3 separate regions of the Homo sapiens genome follow, and all the other regions are linked to region 1. The links are contacts of gene promoters, found by promoter capture Hi-C in blood cells and fetal thymus (Javierre and others, 2016). All regions are on one chromosome and are shown on one strand. The core of a region is centred on a gene start or on the middle of the fragment in contact, and the rest is flanking DNA. Distances in the headings are between cores, read along the strand shown. Region 1 holds the start of LOC124904771 (a long non-coding RNA gene). Region 2 holds the start of SBK2 (SH3 domain binding kinase family member 2). Region 3 holds the start of NAT14 (N-acetyltransferase 14 (putative)).

Evidence for each region. The method cuts DNA at HindIII sites, captures the fragments that hold promoters and counts their contacts. A CHiCAGO score of 5 or more calls a contact.
Region 2: a contact is called between the fragment with the promoter of SBK2 here and a fragment that was not itself captured in region 1, in 2 of 17 cell types (neutrophils and monocytes). The highest score is 6.4, in neutrophils.
Region 3: the fragment with the promoter of NAT14 here is called in contact with a fragment that was not itself captured in region 1 in 14 of 17 cell types (endothelial precursors, M2 macrophages, M1 macrophages and 11 more); the score reaches 10.7 in endothelial precursors.

The regions. Positions count from the first base shown.
Region 1 is chr19:55,213,382-55,216,900 of GRCh38, reverse strand. LOC124904771 (a long non-coding RNA gene) reads right to left here and starts at 1,312. Exons shown (of 2, transcript XR_007067346.1): 1 at 192-1,312. The HindIII fragment of the contact is 1,890 bases long and covers 911-2,800 here.
Region 2 is chr19:55,535,246-55,538,764 of GRCh38, reverse strand. SBK2 (SH3 domain binding kinase family member 2) reads left to right here and starts at 1,632. Exons shown (of 4, transcript NM_001370096.2): 1 at 1,632-1,711; 2 at 2,469-2,723. The coding sequence starts at 2,471. RefSeq lists a silencer at 729-1,023. The HindIII fragment of the contact is 39,425 bases long and covers 1-3,519 here.
Region 3 is chr19:55,483,343-55,486,861 of GRCh38, reverse strand. It overlaps NAT14 (N-acetyltransferase 14 (putative)), which reads right to left and starts at 1,674. Exons shown (of 3, transcript NM_020378.4): 1 at 1,604-1,674; 2 at 1,082-1,201; 3 at 1-454. The coding sequence starts at 1,153. ZNF628 (zinc finger protein 628) reads right to left here. Exons shown (of 3, transcript NM_033113.3): 3 at 2,375-3,519. The coding sequence ends at 2,489. RefSeq lists an enhancer at 1,035-1,364 and a silencer at 1,465-1,884. The HindIII fragment of the contact is 21,455 bases long and covers 1-3,519 here.

The DNA of each region.
Region 1 (3,519 bases), core at 606-3,105:
GCCCCCGGGCAGGTCCTGGCTGGCCCCACCCAGGACCTCAGTCGCTGACCTCAGGACACGGTCCAGGCTCTTTCTATTCACGTCTGTGCGTGGCATCCTCCACGATACAAGCGAAAATCACCATTCCCCGCCTGCCTGGCGTTGGCAGCCAACCCCCAGGAGGCTCCCGGCCCTGGCTTCTCATTTCTCACCTCAGTGCGAGCATGGATCTAGGAGAACCCCAGCTCTCTTACAAGTTGATGAGTCAGGCCCCTGTCACTTCCTGGATCTTTCAATCCTGGCTGCCCGCAAGGCCAGGAAGAGCGAAAACAAGGGCTGGATTCAGCGGAAACACGGCAACACAGGACACAGCCACAGCGTGAGGAGCGAGCAAGCTGGAAAACCTGGATGGGGGTCTGGACTGGTTCACCTGCAATGAGATCAATGATCTAATCGCGGCAGGCGTGGTGGCTCATGCTTGTAATCCCAGCAGTTTGGGAGGCTGACGCGGGTGGATCACATGAAGTCAGGAGTTCGAGAACAGCGTAGTCAACATGGCAAAACCTCGTCTCTACTAAAAATACAAAAATTAGCCAGGCGTGGTGGCCAAGGCAGGAGAATCGCTTGAACCCAGGAGGCAGAGGTTGCAGTGAGCCGAGACGGTGCCACTGCACTCCAGCCTGGGTGACAGAATGAGATTCCATTTAAAAGAAAAAAAAAAATCTAATCCTGGATGAGAGTCCAGGGAAAGTGAGAGTGGAGAAAGCTTACATGAAAACGCAGACCAGATCCCTGAGTGTGGACCTGGAAAACGTGACACACGTCATCAGATTCAGATGAAGGGATATTGCCTGAAGTTTCATCAGCCTTCGGTGTGGAGTTGGCCTGATGTCCCCCAAGATGAATAGACTTGTCTCTACCCAAAGAAGCTTCTTCCACTCTGATAAAAGAAAGGAAAAATAGGCAAAGCCACAGACAATGTGATGAGTATTATAATAAGAGATTTGTTTAGTTTGGCTCCAAACATAGGAGGGAGTGGCCAACTGTATCTGGGGTCAACCAGAAGTAGAAAGAGAAGTAGGCCCTGGCTGGTGGAGAAATATTTTACCAGGCAGAGGGAACAGTGTGTGCAAAGGCCCTGAGGTTTGAATCCACCTGGAGTGCTAAGAAAAACATGCACGGACATCTGTGTAGCTGGAGTAAAGATAGGAGAAGAGGCTGGTGAGGTGGGCAGAGAGCAAATCTGAAAGAACTCCAATCTCAAGGTAAAGACATCATTCATTCATTCATTCCTTCATTCATTCAACAAATCACTGAGAAATTAATAAACACCTGTAAGTGTCCATTCCAGTGAGGATAAATTGCTATCCAGGAGTGAGGGGGAACAGCGTGATGTCTTATGGGTTGATAAGATGACCGAGGTCCCAGACAGTCTAAAGGGAATCACACTGACCTTCTGTCACTGTTGGAGTAAAGAACACTCTTCATTCAGGCTAACTTCTATAGGCAAAACGCCTTTTCCAGTTCATTAGCTGAATATCAGGTGCCAGGGGCTGTGCTGATTTGCTGAAGGAGACCTTACCCTGAGAAGACCAGCCACTTCCGAGGGTATCACCATTTTTTTTTTTTTTTTTTTGAGACGGAGTCTCGCTCTGTCTCCGAGGCTGGAGTGCAATGGCGCCATCTCTGCTCACTGCAAGCTCTGCCTCCCGGGTTCACGCCATTCTCCTGCCTCAGCCTCCCAAGTACCTGGGACTACAGGTGCCCACCACCACGCCCGGCTAATTTTTTGTATTTTTAGTAGAGACGGGGTTTCACCGTGGTCTTGATCTCCTGACCTCGTGATCCGCCCTCCTTGGCCTCCCAAAGTGCTGGGATCACAGCCGTGAGCCACTGAGCCCGGCCAGTATCACCATTTCTTACTTCTGTCTTCCAAGATCCATAAGCTCCTGCATAGATTAATCATGTGAATCAAAGGATAATGTTTAGGAATCACCCTCCCATATCCCACCCCTGTGTTTTCCAAGGCTTGATGCTGGCGCTGATCTCTGTGATTCCCTGGGTTGACTGTTTGGGAAGGATGATACTATGGTTTGGATCTGTGTCCCCACCAAATCTCATGTTGAAATGGAATCCCCAGTGTTGGAGGCCGGACTTGGTGGGAGGTGTTAGGATCTTGGGGATGGACCCCTCATGAATGGTTTAGTACCATCCCCATGGTGATGAGTGAGCTCACAAGAGATCTGGGTATTTTACAGTACGTGGCAAGGCCGGGCGCGGTGGCTCACACCTGTAATCTCAGCACTTTGGGAGGCCGAGGTGCATTGGATCGCCTGAGGTCAGGAGTTTGAGACCAGCCCGGACAACATGGCAAAACCCTATCTCTACTAAAAATACAAAAACTAGCTGGGAGTTGAACCCAGGAGGTGAAGGTTGCAGTGAGCCAAAATGGTGTCACTGCACTCCAGCCTGGGTGACAGAGGGAAACTCCATCTCAAAAATTTAATAATAATAAAATAAAAAAATAGAAGTGTGTGGCACCTCCCGTCCTCTCTCTCTTGCTCCTGCTTTCGACATGTTATGTGCCTGCTCCCTCTTCACCTTCCGCCATGAGTGGAAAAGCTCCCTGAGGCCTTCCCAGAAGCTGAGCAGATGCCAGCACCACGCTTCCTGTACAACCTGCAGAGCCGCGAGCCAATTAAAACTCTTTTCTTTATAAATTACCCAGTCTCAGGTATTTCTTTATAGCAATGAAAGACTGGCCCAATATAGATGGGGGAATTTCTAGGGGCTTCCATTTCTTCTTCCCACCATCAAAGCTTTCACACTACAGATCAGGGAAGCCAAAGCATTGTGTCTGCCATTTTATGAGAATGTCGATTTCAACTTCACTCTCAAGGCCTGAGGAAGGAGCCACACAGGGTCTTTAGAGTCCCGTTGACCCACTGTGTGATGGTCTTTAGGTGAACCCTCCGTTCGTTACCTGACAGCCCCAAGCACACCAGTCAGACCATGATTCACGGTGACCTGTGTGTGCCTCCAAATTAGGATTGATTCAGAGTCAGAGTCCAGTAGCCTTTTCTCTTTCTCTAATCCCCAGCGACCATGGATATTGGCCTTTAGGAGAAACTGGGAGGAAGGTTTACAGTATGTACTTTGACTAGTATCGGTGAGTCCTCCCTGAGGGAAAAGCATCCGCTACATGGAAGGGGTTCCAAGACTGAGAACTGGCTCAGGACTGGTAACAGGTGTGAGGCTTTAGGGGTGGACGTCGCTGGTGCTTCACCCAGATCTCCTTTGCAGGCACTGAGCACTCATTCTTAAGCAGTGTTGGCTGCTTGCAGATGCCACATTCTCAAGAGACTTGGTCTTGGCTGGGCGCAGTGGCTCACACCTGTAATCCCAGTACTTTGGGATGCCAAGGCAGGCGGATCACACGAGGTCAGGAGTTCGAGACCAGCCTGGCCAACATGGTGAAACCCCGTCTCTACTAAAAGTACAAAAATTGACCAGGCACAGTGGCTCACGCCTGTAATCCCA
Region 2 (3,519 bases), core at 383-2,882, 320 kb before region 1:
GCACTTTGGGAGGCTGAGGCGGGTGGATCACCAGGTCAGGAGATCAAGACCATCCTGGCCAACATGGTGAAACCCTGTCTCTACTAAAACATACAAAAATTAGCCAGGCGTGGTGGCAAATGCCCGTAATTCCAGCTACTCGGGAGGCTGAGGCAAGAGAATCACTCGAACCAGAGAGTTGGAGGTTGCAGTGAGCCGAGATCACGTCACTGCACTCCAGTCTGGGTGACAGAGCGAGATTCCGTCTCAAAAAGCAAAAAAAAAAAAAAAAAAAAGAAATAAAAAACCCTGAAGGGTGGGTGCAACCGTCCCAGAAAAAAACAGGGGTCTGAAGTCCCACTGTGGCCCAAGGCTTGGGGACTTCCTAGTGGGGCTTAATCTCCCTGTGCTTACAGCAGGGAGGCACTCACTGGCCTGTATTCCTGTTATGCGCTTTCAAACTATTTTTATTGTTATTCCTCTCTTTGGAATCAGGAGCCCTCAGGCCCTCCTCCCTCAGACCCAGGAGTCCAGGTCCTCAACCCCCTCCTCCCTCAGGCCCAGGAGTCCAGGTCCTCAACCCCCTCCACCCTCAGGCCCAGGAGTCCGGGTCCTCAACCCCCTCCTCCCTCAGACCTAGGAGTCCAGGTCCTCAACCCCCTCCTCCATCAGGCCCAGGAGTCCGGGTCCCGTGTAGAAAATGAAATCATTTCTGGAACCCACCCCTGCCTTGACCCCACCCAGCTGCCCCATCAATGCCCCATTGACAGGTCAGACACAAGTGCTTGGAGAGGGGTGTCCAGGGGATCAGATGCTGGGGTCTAGTTTGGGGAAAGAATGAGACAATGAGATTCCAGAACGATGCAGTGTGGGATGACCTCAGACTCAGAGGGGCGGGAAGCAGGTGCTGGAGCAACTGGGAAGAGAGGCCTTGAGGGGGTGGGGAGGCCTCAGTTCTGCCGGAAAACTTCAGATGGGTGGGGGAGGCTGAGGCCTGGACTCCTGGGTCTGAGGGAGGAGGGACTGGGGCCTGGACTCCTGGGTCTGAGGGAGGAGGGGCTGGGGCCTGGACTCCTGGGTCTGAGGGAGGAGGGGCTGGGGGTCTGGACTCCTAGGTCTGAGGGAGGAGGGGCTGGAGACCTGAATTCCTGGGTCTGAGGGAGGAGGGGCTGGAGACCTAGACTCCTGGGTCTGAGGGAGGAGGGGCTGGGGTCTAGACTCCTGGGTCTGAGGGAGGAGGCACTGGGGGACTGGATTCCTGGGTCTGAGGGAGGGAAAGCTGGGGGCCTGGATTCCTGGGTCTGAGGGAAGAAGAGCTGGGGGCCTGGACTCCTGGGTCTGAGGGAGGAGGGGCTGGGGCCTGGACTCCTGGGTCTGAGGGAGGAGGCACTGGGAGACTGGATTCCTGGGTCTGAGGGAGGAGGCGCTGGGGGCCTGGACTCCTGAGTCTGAGGGAGGAGGAGGGGCTGGGGCCTGGACTCCTGGGTCTGAAGGAGGAGGGCTCAACTCTTGGGTCAGGGTATTCACCTGACCACAGCCAGTTCCAGGAGTCATCACACGATGTCGCTCTGCTCCCAGTGGGGGCAGAAGGGGCGGGCCCAGGGGCGGGGCCTTACGACCCCCAAAGTCGGGGCGGGGTCTTGCTCCTAGGCAGGCCTCTGCTGGCATGAGCCCTAAGTGCCGGGCACTGACCACAGCCGGCGGCCGGAGGGTCAGGAGGGCCTTGGAGGAGGTGAGGTCTGGAGGTCTGAGCCCAGGTTGGGAGGTGGGCAAGGTGCCCTGGCCTGAGGTGGGCAGCACCTGAGGGTGACTGTACCAGGTGGCCCGAGTCCTCGGTCCCTCAGGGGAGCCTGGGCTGCACCTGGAGGCTGTAGAGCGGTGGAGGGTGAGGGAAACAGAATCAGGGGGTCCCCAGTTGTGTGAATTGTATGAGGTTCCGGGAGAGAGGTGGGCTGGGGGCCTGGACCCCTGGGCCTGGCGGAGGAGGGGCTGGGGGGCTGGGTCGGAGGGAGGTGGGTGGGCTGTGAAAGTGGGACCCCAGGCCTGTCAGGAGCTTGGGGACTGATCCCAAGTGCTCGGTCCCATGCAGGACCCAGGCGTCCCAGGCCCTCTGCACAGCCCGCCCTCCCAGCCCTGAGCCCAAGAGCACCTGTTTGTTCTCAGGAGACAGAGTCTACTCATCCACCCCCAGGGCCCAAGTCTGTTTGCTTTGGAAACAAGATGGGGGAGTCTCAGTTATCTGGTTCATCTTTCAACCTCAGGGTGGGCGGGTGGCGGCGGCGGCACGCGGGCAGGGACATCTGTGACCTGGGGCTTGAACTCACACCAGACTTGTCTCCCCACCTCTCACCAAGAGGGAGACTGAGTCACAATGAGAAGCGCGATGAGCCCCCAGCCCCTCCTCCCTCAGACCCAGGAGTCCAGACCCCCAGTCCCCTCCTCCCTTGGGCCTGGGACCTGAGCCTGGGCACCCCTCTCTGTTCTCGCAGAGATGCCCGGCAAACAGTCTGAGGAAGGGCCGGCGGAGGCAGGGGCTTCGGAGGACAGCGAGGAGGAGGGTCTGGGCGGCCTGACATTAGAGGAGCTCCAGCAGGGCCAGGAGGCTGCCCGCGCGCTGGAGGACATGATGACGCTGAGTGCTCAGACCCTGGTCCGAGCCGAGGTGGACGAGCTCTACGAGGAAGTGCGTCCCCTGGGCCAGGGTTGCTATGGCCGCGTCCTTCTGGTCACCCATCGTCAGAAAGGTACGAGGCTGTGGGGCCAGAGGTGGCAGGGTTCAGCTGGGGGCGGGGCACGGGCCTGGGGTAGCCCAGGCTGGGGAGGCTGGCAGGCCTGAATCAAGTCTTACCTCTGCCCTCCAAAGCTGTGTGTTTTTTGTTTTTTGTTCTTTTGGTTGGTTGGTTGTTTTTGAGACAGTCTGGCTCTGCCGCCCAGGCTGGAGTGCAGTGGCACAATCTCACTGCAACTTCCACCTCCCAGGTTCAAGTGTTCCTCCTGCCTCAGCCTCCCATGTAGCTAGGACTATAGGCATGCACTACCACACCCAGCTACATTTGTGTGTGTGTGTATTTTTCTTTCTTAGTAGAGATGAGGTTTCACTCTGTTGGCCAGGGTGGTCTCGTACTCCTGGCCTCCAGTGATCCGCCTGCCTCAGCCTCCCAATTGCTGGGATTACAGGCATGAGCCACGGTGCCCTGCCAAAAACTGTGTTTTGAGGAACTCCCTTGCCCTCTCTGAGTCTCAGCTTCCTCCTTTGGAAAATGTGGGTGATGATTTCTACTTGGAAGAATGGTGGATCCTCTGAGTGAATGTGGACTGCTCTAGTTGCTGGGGTTGTATAATGCTGGGTAAGACAGAGCTCCCAGCTCAGGAGCCTCCTGTGGCGGCTGTAGTGGTCACCGTGGGATGATGCAGAGTGATGCTGTCTGCTAAGCACTTAGCAAGGCCGGCACACAGTGGGTGCGCAGGACAGCTCCCCACTACCCTGGGCCTTTCTGCCAAGCACCGTGTCCTTCCATGAAACGGAAAATAGGGAGGCAA
Region 3 (3,519 bases), core at 425-2,924, 270 kb before region 1:
CCCCCCAGGCGGCCACAGCCACGGGGACCACGAGCCGGGCCCGGGGCTCCCCCATGCCCCCAGCCCAGGCCCGAGCCCGGGCCTCCGCGAAGGCCAGCAGCCTCCTGCCCACGCCCCGGCGGCGGTGCCAGCGAGAGACAGACAGGCGGGTGACCCGGGCCCCGTCCCCTGCATTTGTGCCAGGGGCCAGAGCCAGGACCCCACACACGTCACCGGAGCCCCGCACGGCCACCCAGGGGCCCCCCAGGCCACCCGGCGGAGGCAGCGAGCCCCATCGGGCCCGCAGGCCCAGCTTCACGGCGGCCACAGCCAGGAACACCGGCAGGAGGAGGGCCAGGGCGAAGGAAGCCAGGACAAAGCGCAGGCCGCTGCTGGCCGCCGCCAGGAGGAGCAGGGCCGGCGGCCGTGTCAAGGCATGGAGGGCCACGCGGTTTTCCGTGTCCTTCACGCCGGCCTGTGGGCAGGAGGGGTGGCTCAGCCATCCGAAACGCTAGGGCCTCCTGGACAAAGAGAGGAGGTAGACCCTGCCCGGGGCGGGGTGAGAGCTCCCAAATGGGAAGGGAAGGCAGCACAGTCCGATGTTCAGTGTGGCACACTGGGTATGGAGTGAATGAATGAACGAGAGCGAATGATGGATGGATGAGTGAATTAGGAGCTGTGGGGGCACTCAATTCAGTAGCAATGCCGCAGTGAGGCCCCAGGGAAGTAAGGACAGGGAGGTTGCCTCAGGCTGGAGTGGAGGCTGGAGGGAGGCTGCTGGGCTAGGTTGGGGTGCTGGGCTGTGCTTTGAAGAGTTGGGGTCCGAGGCACAGAGCTGGCTGTTGTGCTGGCGTGCACAGCCGACTGGAGATGGGAGACCAGGGAGGGCGTTGGTGCTGGGGTCCCAGTAGGGCTGGGGGGGTGAGCCCCCACCTGCCACACCTGCTGTGGTTTTCAGCAGCAGGGCGGCTGAGGCTCAGGAGGAAAAGATCCCGCTCCAGGGGTCCAGGCTGGCTCAGGTGGGTGGGAGGGGGTGGCTGAATCCACTTGCAATTCCCCCACTGCAGCCACTCCCAGGCCCCCTGGGGCCCCTGCCTCTCACCTTCAGCATCTCCAGCACCAGGGGCTTCTCATCTTCCCTCATCTCCCGCACTGACAGGTGGCTGGGGGCCATGGCAACCCCCAGGCCCCGGCCCCCCAGAAGGGAGCTGGCGTCGTGCACCTGGTGAGAACATAAGTAGGTCAGCGTCAGGGGGGCACCTCTGTCCCCAAAGCTCCCCCGAGGGGTAGGGAGCAGCAACGGCACTTCCCAGATCAGGACACTGAGAACCCTCGGGGCCCCCAAGCGAGGATCTCGGCAGGACAGGCGCCCCCCACAATACTCAGCGACCTTGCTAAAGTCTCCCGGGATCCCCCCTCCCCCGTATTATTCAGCGATCTACACTCCCAAACGCGCTGCGGACGCCAACACTGCAGCACGGGGCTCCCTCCCAGGCACTGGGGTCCACGAACACCCTCCCCACATGCCAGAGAACGGACCACGCTCGCTCCACCCCGGTCCCCAGCGCCCCCTCCCCCACAGTCGTCCCCGTCCCGCGCCACAAGAACAAGGACCAGCAAGCACCTGCACCGGTCGCCTTTGGTCCTTCGACAAGGTTTCGGGAGCGGGTCTGGAAGGGGGTCGCGGGCGGAAGTGACGTCAGACCGCGCGCGGTGGGGCGGGGCGGCGCCCGCTCCGGGCCGTAGCAACCGTTGCTAAGCTCCCCGGAGGGCGGGCTGGGAGGAACCGAGCTGTGACCCTGCGGAGGGCCGGGAAGCGACCTCTCCTATCCCTAGAGAAGGAGCAACGGGGAAAGGGGACCTGGGGAAGAACGGGAGCGGAAGCCGGCAGGAGACGGGCGGCGGGCTGGGGACCAGCGCGAGCTCCCGCCCCACGTTCCCTCGTTGCTGAGCAACCTGAGCGCCGGGCGGCGACGCCAGCGCGTGGATTCTCATCCGTGCCGGGGCCTTCGCGGGAGGAGCCGGCCACGCTCAGCATCCTGGCGCCCGACTCCCCCATCCCCAGGGACCCCACTCCACCCACGGGGCGCCCGGGGTCGCAGAACCCTTCCGCATAAGGATCCCCCTACTTCTCACACGAGGGGGGCAGCGGGGCGACCTACAGTGAACAAGTAGCACTCCCTGGAGTCTGATGTCACCACCTCCCCACTATAATGACCCCTGCGGCCTTTTTTGGTTTCAGGACAGGGGAACTGAGCCCTACGTAGTGGCTGGCCCCAGGATGCAGAACAAGCCATCTGCGACCCAGGACGCAAGACTTAAGACTCCACGCTCCCAGGCGGGGGCTAGGACCATGACTTTGCCCCCTTCCCTCCCCCCAGGAAAACAAAACACAGGCGGGGAGACTCGGGTCTTTATTAGCAAGCCCAGCCTGCGGCACCCTGCCCCGCCCCGGCTGGCAGTGAGTCGGGGTCTCTGTGCGGGGCGGGAGGGGAATCACTGCCTCTCCTCAAAACGTGTGCACCAGCTGGACTGCGGGTAGAGTCTGGACAATCTGGATGGAGGGCAGGCCCTGAGGGGTCATAACACCAGGCCCAGCTCCTGCGGGGACCACTTGCACCATCTGGGAGGCTGGAGCCCCGGGGAGCCCCGCGGGGCCCGAGGCTGGGCCTGACGGCGGTGGGGCCAGGAGCTGCAGCGTGGCGGTGCCTCCTCCAGTGTTGCTGCTGTCCAGCAGCTCAGTGGCTGGGGCGCTGCGGATGATGAGGAGTTTCTGTCCGGGTGGGCCGGTGGCAGGCGGCTCCGTCAGCCCAGGAGGAAGTGTTTCTACCTCCTGTACGCAGAGTCGAGTCTGTTCGCCATCGGCCCCGCTCAGCACCAGCACGCTCTGCAAGCCCTCGTCCGTCTGGAGTGTCTCAAAGAGGACATCCTGGACCACACCAGTGCTGGCCTCGCCATCCCCCGCCTCCCCGGGGCCCGGGCCAGTGAGCAACTCCTCAGCTGCCCCGCTCTGAACAACCAGCAGGTTGGGTGCCTCAGTAGCCACAGCTCCCCCACTGGAATTGGAGAGCTGGCCGGCCACGGGCTGGAGCTGGACCGTGGTCACCTCCTGTGCTGGCTGGAGCTGGACCGTGGTTACTTCCTGTGCTGGCTGGAGCTGGACTGTGGTCACCTCCTGCGCTGGCTGGAGCTGGACCGTGGTTACTTCTGGGGCTGGTCGGAGGGGCTGGAGCTGCACCCCACTCATTTCCTGTGGCCCTGCCTCCCCACCCCCCACATTCTGCAGAACGATGAGGCTCTGCCCTGTCCCGCTGGCCCCAGCGCTGGCCGCTCCCTGCACCCCTAGACCCCCAGGGCCTGGCAGCCAGACCACTCCCGCCCCCTGGCCCGCTTTCCCCACTGCCCGCGGGCCCTGCCTTGCACGGCCGCCCCCAGCCCCAGCACTGGAGGAGGGCAGCAGGATGAGCTTGGGAGGTGCGGGAGGGGGCGGAGGTGTAGGGGGCTGCACGCTGCTGGGGATCAGCTGGAGGCCCTGGGCAG